3 separate regions of the Homo sapiens genome follow, and regions 1 and 3 are each linked to region 2. Evidence: promoter capture Hi-C in human tissues and cell types (Jung and others, 2019). All regions are on one chromosome and are shown on one strand. The core of a region is centred on a gene start or on the middle of the fragment in contact, and the rest is flanking DNA. Distances in the headings are between cores, read along the strand shown. Region 1 overlaps DOCK8 (dedicator of cytokinesis 8). Region 2 holds the start of DMRT3 (doublesex and mab-3 related transcription factor 3). Region 3 overlaps DOCK8 (dedicator of cytokinesis 8).

Region 1 (3,098 bases), core at 188-2,687, 510 kb after region 2:
TTTCCATTTAAGTGAAAGCAGTATCTGTGATTTCTGGCTGACTGCTCCAAGTACCGTGTATCTCCTACATCAGTGCTTTGAATGTATTCTTCTATAAATGCATGTTAAATTAATGTAACAGTAATAATAAAACAAAAATAACTATACAGCAATTAGTCCACCATTACCAAAAGGGTAACAAGTTCACAAATAATCTCCTCCCAAATTTCCAACCATGATGATTTTTGGAATTGTAGTAAGGCTTCCCTTTGTAGATTTATTGAAAATGTTTCGTACTCCTACAAGTTTGCCCTGCCTTCCTATAAAGAGTGAAATTCAGTTTGAATCGACTGGTGGATAATTTTTCCATTTTTCCTCAGGCAATTTGAGTTACTCCAATAAATTCAAATATGGGCCAGAGGAAATCATCTCTCAGATGGGCAGTGATTGGCCAGTCAGCAGGAGAAGCTGCTTATGCCTTGTTTGGTACATTGTGGAAAAACACACTTTAATAAATACGCAGTCATGCCTGAGTACCCATCCTCCATCCCGCCACCCCCCAGTATGGCAAAAATCTGGTCAGAGTCCATTTGGGAATAATTCCATGGTTCCTGGGATCCCAAAGCTTCCAGAGTGCTGGCTGATCAGGGAGTGTACAGTCAGTCCTGGGTGGCAAATGTCCCATTTTTTAAGTACCAGCAAGTCCTTCTCCAGGGTTGCAGGGCCACAGTCTCCACGAATGAAGATGGCTTTTCTTAGCTGCCCTGTGACAACTGGGTTTCACATTTCCTGAAACTAGATCTGTGGAAGGAGTCCCTGAAATTAAGAAAAGAGAGGGAGGAGAGGGAAAGAGAGCGTACAGAAGCAAGAAAAGATCAGTTAGCCTTTTAGAAAGGGTTGGGGGTGGATCACCCAGTAGAAATGGACATCAGTCATGGACAACTCAGCAAATAATAAGTGAAAGGTCTGCGACCCCTTCACACTGTGCCAAAACAAACATACAAACCAACCAAACAAACAAAAAAACCAACACAGGCCATCATTCAGCCCTGGGAATACCCTGGCACAAGACCAACACCAAGGTGTCTGGGAGAGGTCAAGGAGCAGGGATGGGGAGGACAGAGGCAGAATGAATCACACTCTGGTAGCCTCTCTGACTGTGGGACCCTCTTCCACCCTTTCGAGGTTCTGCAGCTCCCCAAGTGCAGCAGAGCATGCCCCAAGGTGCTAGGCCCCATGCGCTGCTCTTTATCCCACAGGAAGAGGCCTCCTCTGCCCTGTTCTTACCTCTTTTGACTCTCAACTCTGAATATTGGCTTGTACAGTTCTGGAATTTTCCGCTCGATCATTGGCCTGAGGTTCTCTTTTAGCTTGTTATAGTTCTTTTTGAGTTCCTGCTGATATTCCCTCTGGTCTGCCGTGATGAGACGCTTGTTTTTCTCTACAGCTTCACCACATCTGAGATGAAAATATCAGTGTGGGAGAAATAAATGACTTTGAAGTGCTTAGAAATCTGAGAACAATGAAATTACTTACGATTTTTCGAATAACTTTAAGAACGTTTTCAAACTGGGTGGCATATCGGGATCACCTGTGGAGCTTTTCAAAATGCAGATTTCTGGGATCTATCTCAGACTTAATGAATCATAACTGCTGAGGGGTAGCACCCAGAAATCTCTGTGTTTGTTTTTTTTTTTTACCTTATTTTATTATTTTTTGAGACGGGGCTCACTCTATCACCCAGGCTGGAGTGCAGTGGCATGATCACAGCTCATGGCAAACTTCGACCTCCTGGGCCCCAGTGATCCTCCTACCTCAGCCTCCTGGGTAGCTGGGACTACAAGTGTGGGCCATTGCTTCTGGCCCAGAAATGTCTAATGTTAAAAAGTTGCCCAGGGGATACTGAAGCCAACCTAGCCAGAATTGAGAACCTCTGACTTGCTATGTGCCAGAAGAAGTTTCAAGAAGTTTTACATGCATTATCTGTTTAATTTTCCCAACAACCCTAAAAAGTCAGCATTTATCTCTATTTTGTTTCTGAAACTCAGAAATGTTAGGATGCTTGCCCAAGATAACACTGTGAGGAAGTGATGGATCTAAGAGTCAGACTCAAAACACACTGCAGAATGGAAGCTGTTACACTTACAAAAAACTCACTGTGATTTACAGCAACATGGCAGACAGAGCAGATGGCATTCAGCCTCCTCCTGCTACGTACATATGGAAGTGCTAGGAAAGCACAGCAAAAACTTGTTGAAAGAGAAAGGGGAACACCAGGTGCCAGAAAGAAAGAGAAAAATCAAAGCTAGAATGATCACAGGAGCTGGTGACAAGGCAGCTGTCAGTAGGACTGCCCATTAAGATTTTAGGACTGTGTATAGGTCTATGGGCTGAGGGGAAGGGGCTTCAAAGCTCACACAAGATTAGTGATGTGGCCTTGGCCAGGGCAAAGGGAGATTCTGGATATGCCACCTGCATATCGTCCAGAGCCTTGAAAAGCTATCCCATCTATGAAAGAGGGTTTAGAAAAATGCTGCAAGATGTCCAGAGAGGCAGAATGAAAACTTGCTATCAGCTTAGGGCCATTTATGGAAAAGAAAGTCATATTGAGAAATGGAAATTCTAGGCTTGCACCACACATAGTATAAGTTACAAATGTACATTCCTTGACTGTATGTGCTTCAAGGTGAGAAAATAACTTAAAAGCCAGTCCAAGATTACTGAAATTGCTAGGATTCAGCCAAACCAACATAAAGTTGTTCTGGAGGAACACATTCTCAATCAGGGCATATGAGCCACTCTCGCCAAAGATGAGCTCACAATAAAAAATTACAAACCATATGAAGAAACCAACCACCACGAGGGAAAACTAACAGATGCATCAAACAAAAGAATTAGTCCAATAAGAATTAGAGATAATAAAACAATGTAAAAAACCAAAGTTAATATAGAGAGGTAATAAAATGTATAAAATCCTAAGTAATCATGTAACTAGAAAAAAAAAAAGAAAATAAATAAAAGGTATAAAATCCATGATAAAAACAAATAAACAGGGAAAATGAAAAAAGAGACCAGGAAAAGTTCAGAAAAGGACCAAACAGAACTTCTAGAAAAAAGAA
Region 2 (2,827 bases), core at 218-2,717:
GCTATCAGCTCACAAGCCTTTCCGGACCCTTTTACTATCATTGCTAAATGGAACTTATTTCACCAGTTACAAGAGTCTGGAGGCCACGGAGCAAAGCTAGAAAGGCCAGGGTTCTGAGAGTTGGATACTTGTCCTCACTCAAATTTTCCTGGGCCCTGGGCAGGGCCGGGCCGGCCGAGAAGCACAGCCAGCTCGACTCAGCCGAGTGTTGGCCTTGGCTCCTTCCCTACACCTACCTACCCATTCCAACCCCCAAATGGCAAGGACCTCTAAAGCCTGCAGCCAGGAAAATCCGACCCCACCGTAGTGAGTGTGCGCACGTGGGTTTTAATTTTGTCCTGTCTCAACTCCGTTGTCTCCCTGCTCAATCTGACACGTTCCGAACCCTTCAACCTGGGAAGGCACCTGGCGATACTGACGCACAGTCCCGTCGTTTGGCTGCCCGGAGGCGCCTTCCCTGCGGGCGCGAGTGCCACTCGCGCTGGGTCCAGACTCAGCCGGCTTCTCCCGGGAGAGGAAGCCCCGGCCTGGCGGAGAGTAGGAAGGAAAGCCCCGACAGGCCCACGTCCCAAAACTTTGCCTCCAGTCCTCCCAAGTGGAGCTGCAGCTGGCACTCCGAAGTTGCCCCCGCGCCCGGCCAAACTCCCGCACCTCAGACGCTCTTACCTGGCTTGGCGAGCTGCGCCTGCAGAGCCCCGGGCTGCGGCTCGGCAGTCCAACGCAGCGCGGCGGCCGCGGCCAACTCGGCAGCAGGGCGCGGCGGCTGCGGCTGCGACGGCTGAGAGGCTGGCGGCGGCTGCGGGGCGGCGACGGCGTCCCCCGGCGGCGGGGGCCCTGGCAGAGCGCGCAGCGAGTCGGGGATGAGGCTCTCCAAGCTCTCGTTGGCCTGCTGCCGGCGCAGCGCCACCTGCGCAGCCATGACCCGCTGCCGCTCGATGATGAGGATGCACTTCTCGCAGGTGCAGTCCTTGAAGCGGCAGTAACGCTTGTGGCCCTTGAGCCAGGACAGGACGCCATGGTTGCGGCAGCGCGCGCACTTGGGCGTGCGCTGCAGGGGCGCCCGTGGCGGCTGCGACACCGGGCCGCCCATGTACAGGTAGGGGGAGCCGTAGCCGTTCATGCCCCGGGCTCCCGAATGAGTTGGCAGCCTGGCTGCGGGAGAGGGCCAGGGAGCGCTGGACGGCGGGGCTGCGAGGCCCGCTCAGGGGCGGCCTCCGGGCGACGCGGCCCTTGGTCCCGCAGCCCCGGTGGTCGTGTGTGCTCCGGGGCGGCCGGAGGTGCCGCAGTCGTCTCTCCAGCTCCCTTCGCGCTCACAGCTCGGCCTCCCAGCTCACGCCCAGCCAACGCCGACGCGGGCCTCTGCCTTGGGCGCGCAGCCGGGTCGGCACGTCCTCCTTCGCGGAGGCGCTGCGGCGGCTGCAAGGAGCCGGCGACAGCTCTGATTAAGGTCTGAGCCAGCTCTTCTGCAGCTCCCTCGTGAGCCGGCCGGACCCAACACCTCCGCCGCCCTCCCCCAACCCCTCCTCCTTCCCACCGCCACCCCCGCCCCTGGGGTCCCTGTCTCCTTGCACTCCCCGCCCCACGCCTTCCTCCTCCTTTGCGCCCCTCGGGTGCCTGCACTTCACCTTCCTTGCCACCTGCAGCCAGGCCACTCTCGCGGGGGCGCTCGCGGCCCCCTCCTCCAAGCCCTCTCCGCTACCCCAGCCCGCGGCTGGAGACTGCGGCGCTCCAGAACGCGGCGGTGCTCGCGGGGCGGAGAAGGGGAGGACCAGCGGGAGTGAGGGTGGGGGTGCCTGTAAGCGAGTGAGGTGGCCGCTCCGCTTCTCTCTCTTCTCCTCCCTCCAGTCCAGATCTGGCCGCGTTTTTCCGAGCCCAAGGCCGCTTTTATCCCGACATTTGGCCGCAGAAGCTCAGCTCCGGGAGAACTCGAACCTACGGGAGTGTTGCGGTTGCACCCCGGACCTGGGTGGAGTTTAGGATAGGGGAGTGAAGTGATGTTGGTTTAGGAAAGTTAGGCTCTTTTCGTAATTTCCTTTTAGAACGTATTTTTTTCTCTTTTGTTGCTTTAGAAGAAAATGGTTTTGGAGATCTGCCGGCCCAAGGATGACAAGCCATTTTGCAGGCGAATTTTACTTTTCTACCCTCCTGTCCATGTTTTAATATAAAACAGTATCCTGAAAGGTCAGGGACGTACGTGCTCCTGTAAAGGATTTGTTAAGCGCCGGGTATAAACTTTCAAGGGGCAGACACAGAAGCCACATTGGCGCCCCCAAAGTTACCGATATCCTCTTCCCTCGCTCCCAGCAGCTACTGGAAGCAAACGGAGGTCTTGCGCCAGCCACTCAGTTCAAATCCCCACGGATTCTGTGATTCAGTTATGGATATGGGATGGGGCCACTTTTTCACCTCCTTAACCCATAGACCCCAGTCATAGATGTCTTGGGGGAGAGGGTCCTTCACAAGATGACAGCAGAAAACTTTGTTTAGATTATTTGCGTGTTCCCATTCTCCCAGGAGTAGCGGGCTTGGCCTAGTGCAGACTATCGCTATATATGCACAAAGAAGGCCCTCCACCCTCGCACCTCCCCACTGCCCATCAGCAAACAAGCAAAAACCAAAAAACAAACAAACAAACAAAACAAGTGGATACACTGCAGGGCAGCACAATAGCTCTATGCGAAGCGGGGCAGTTCCAGAGCCTTCGGTGGATGCGCTTCTGAGAGCGTGCACCAAGCCCATCTCCTGGTGGGGAATCAAATGCTAGATGAGAGCGTAGGCAAGTCCGCTGCAATGTCCGACCCCTCATGGGCACAGAGGCCCTTGTCCC
Region 3 (3,044 bases), core at 417-2,916, 580 kb after region 2:
TCTGGCTGGGGGATGATAGTTTCCATTTGCCCCTACCCCAGCTCCCTGATGGATTTCTTGTCCTTCTCTGTCTGTCTCTGAATGCTGGGAAGGGGGTCTCGAGGGACCACATCACTCAGGCCCCCTTAACCTTTGGCTTCCAGTTGGAGTTGGCCAACAGGAGCACAAACAAGGGGATCATTACGTGGGAGAACAGAGAGGCCCAGGTAGTTACTCACTTCCACTGCCCTCATCCCTGCTGCAGTGAGGTCCTGGTAGTGGCAACATTTTTCTAAGGCCCCAGGCTCCTTTTCTAAGATTGTCTCATCTGCCTCCAGATTTTTCTAGGCCCCAGTTACTCTGCTATACTCTTGATTCTTTAGAGCTAGCATAGAGAAAGGCTTCTGCCAGCTGCTGTACCCTGGGGGCTCTCACCAATCCTCATTGGCCCCTGAACCTCCCATACATGCTGAGCAGAGTCCTTTTGATCAATGCTTTTCAGTTAACCCTTTTGGGCAACGGAAACTCTGTCCTGCCAGAACCTGACAGACTTAGGTTTTAGGCTGCTGGTAGAACTGGTGTCTTGGGTGATCTGCATGTTGACAAACCCCTGCAATATGCTTAGATCAGCAGGGGCTTTCTTCCCAAAAAACTTCATCTGTTTACCATAAGGGACTTCCTAGAGGTAAGATGGGCCATGTGCTTTAGCTTATGCTTTCTCTCCTGGGCCAACGAAGCCCTAGTAAATAAATGTGCAAGGCCAAAAGCAGTTAGGGGCAGTGAAGTGGTACTGCTGAAGCATTTGGCTGACTTGGAGACTCTCTTTATGGCCACCACCCTTCCTCCAACCCCATCTGTAAATTTGGGATAATAAAAGTTCCTCCTGCCTCAAGATTGCATAATGATTACATTAGATGATGCTTTAAAATGCTTAAAACACTGCCTGGCACATATATAGTAAGATGCTCAGTAGTTTTGATGTGATTATTCTTTCTCCCATTGGTATGCCAACTATTGGTATGCCAACTATTATTGGGATTCTGTGAAGAACAGAGACATCATTACACCTGCAGAGAATGCAAACTTCCTTTGGAAAGAGAGCTCTAAGATGCCACATGGAACCACTCAGAATAAGCAATGCTGAATTCCGCATTGGGAATGAATTATTTGTATGAATTATCCATAGCTGGATTATGACTCAAGTGAATCTTCTTCTTCTTCTTCTTTTTTTTTTTTTTTTTTTTTTTTTTTTTGAGACAGGGTCTCAATCTGTTGCCCAGGCTGGAGTGCAATGGCATGATCAAGGCTCACTGCAGCCTTGAACTCCTAGGCTCCAGTGACGCTCCTGCCTCAGCCTGCTGAGTAACTGAGACTACAAGCACATGTTACCACACCCAGGTAATTTTTTCATTTTTGCAGAGCTAGGCTGAGTGAATCTTCTTTATGGAGAGACATGATGGTGGGTGGGATGTGTAAATAGAAGCAGGATATAAAGGGCATGGGGTGACGGTTTTGATACTTCTCATGCCTCAAGAAACAAGAGGGGAATGGGTCTTATGGCCCAGTCCCTTTCCTGCCAGAGCATGGAGCTCATGTCTCATTGTTAATGCTCTTGCCCCAAGACTTGTGAGCTGCAGCCACCACCTTAATTAGCTCGGCTTTTGGAATGAAAAAAAAATTCTGGTGTTGTCTGAGTACAAATTCCAAAAGACCTGTAGCTCTGTATAGGATTCACAGAACAGAGGTGGTGTAGACCAGTGGATCATTAACAGGCTTAGAAGTCACCTGAGAAGACAGGTAAATGCACAATGCTGGCCTCCAGCCTCCTAATTTTAGTGCTTTGAGAAAGAATCTCTGCTTTATTTTTACTAAGCACCTCCAGGTGGTTCTGTGGCAAGGATTTGGGACCATGCTTTGGGACCCTTCTCAAAACAGAGGTTGGGACTTTGCAAAACTTCATGGGATTTGAATCCTGGGTGTGTTTCTGTGGCATGAACCTGACTTCTTCTGAACTCTATTCCACATTGCTTCCTATTTCCTCCCCAGTGGATGGTTCATTTGTTTCCTTTGCCCTTTGTTCTCTGTGTCCTATTGTTCAGCATTTCTCCCTTTTTCTTGGGCTTCAACTTACATACAAAAACTAGAGCTTAGGTGGAACCCCTCCCATCTCTTTAGTCCCTCTCTCTTTTTTTTTTTTTTTTAGATGGAGTTTTGCTCTTTTTGCCCAGGCTGCAGTGCAATGGCGCAATCTCAGCTCACTGCTGCCTCTGCCTCCCAGGTTCAAGCAATTCTCCTGCCTCAGCCTCCTGAGTAGATGGGATTACAGGCACCCGCCACCACACCCGGCTAATTTTTGTATTTTTAGTAGGGATGGGTTTTGTCACGTTGGCCAGGCTGGTCTCGAACTCTTGACTTCAAGTGACCTGCCTGCCTCAGCCTCCCAAAGTGCTAGGATTACAAGTGTGAGCCACCACACCCAGCCTAGACTCTCTTTAAAAAAAAAAAAAAAAAAAAAAAGATTCACTTAATGGGACAGGGGAAAGAACCCAATGAATATAAAGCTAACATTATCACTAAATCTCAACCTACTCCAAATCCTCTGAACTGTTTGCATATATATTTTTATATAGTTGGTGTCTATGTCTTTAGACCTCTTTCATTCAACATCATCTCATTATGCATCTCTGTTTATCAACATTGAGAAAATGTTTATTTTTAGTGCCTCTATGGGAAAATCCTTTTGCTTCCATTAATAATTAAACAAAAAAATAGTTATCACTATTATTCCCCTTATTTTAAAATTAAGGTATTATGGCTATACCTTTTGCTTTTCTGCTCGAGTAATGGTAGAAGTTTTAGGATAAACAGATATACAAATTTCATTCTGTTTTCCAACAGATATTAATTGGGCCTTGCATGGTACCAAGCAGTGTGCTGAGGCTAGAGATGGGATAATACACAAGAGAGACCCAAATCCTGAAAATCTAACCGCTGAGACAGAAAAAACAATTAGAAATTGTGATAACCACTAGGAAAGAAATAAATAGGGTGCTCAGAAGGAGGAT

What was found. The method cuts DNA at HindIII sites, captures the fragments that hold promoters and counts their contacts. A contact is called where the count stands out against the background at its distance.
Region 1: a fragment that was not itself captured here is called in contact with the fragment with the promoter of DMRT3 in region 2 in 3 of the 25 tissues and cell types used here (dorsolateral prefrontal cortex, hippocampus and thymus).
Region 3: a fragment that was not itself captured here is called in contact with the fragment with the promoter of DMRT3 in region 2 in 2 of the 25 tissues and cell types used here (dorsolateral prefrontal cortex and lymphoblastoid cells).

What each region holds. Positions count from the first base shown.
Region 1 is chr9:461,856-464,953 of GRCh38, reverse strand. DOCK8 (dedicator of cytokinesis 8) reads right to left here. Exons shown (of 48, transcript NM_203447.4): 47 at 1,267-1,437; 48 at 1-795. The coding sequence ends at 735. DOCK8-AS2 (DOCK8 antisense RNA 2) reads left to right here. Exons shown (of 2, transcript XR_002956871.2): 2 at 1-180. Among named protein-coding and RNA genes, the nearest start is that of DOCK8-AS2, 6.7 kb to the left of the region's middle. The HindIII fragment of the contact is 8,303 bases long and covers 1-3,098 here.
Region 2 is chr9:975,295-978,121 of GRCh38, reverse strand. It overlaps DMRT3 (doublesex and mab-3 related transcription factor 3), which reads right to left and starts at 1,467. Exons shown (of 2, transcript NM_021240.4): 1 at 667-1,467. The coding sequence starts at 1,120. RefSeq lists enhancers at 1,300-1,799, 1,800-2,301. The HindIII fragment of the contact is 20,406 bases long and covers 1-2,827 here.
Region 3 is chr9:391,274-394,317 of GRCh38, reverse strand. All of the region lies in intron 24 of DOCK8 (dedicator of cytokinesis 8), which reads right to left. Among named protein-coding and RNA genes, the nearest start is that of DOCK8-AS2, 77 kb to the left of the region's middle. The HindIII fragment of the contact is 7,011 bases long and covers 1-3,044 here.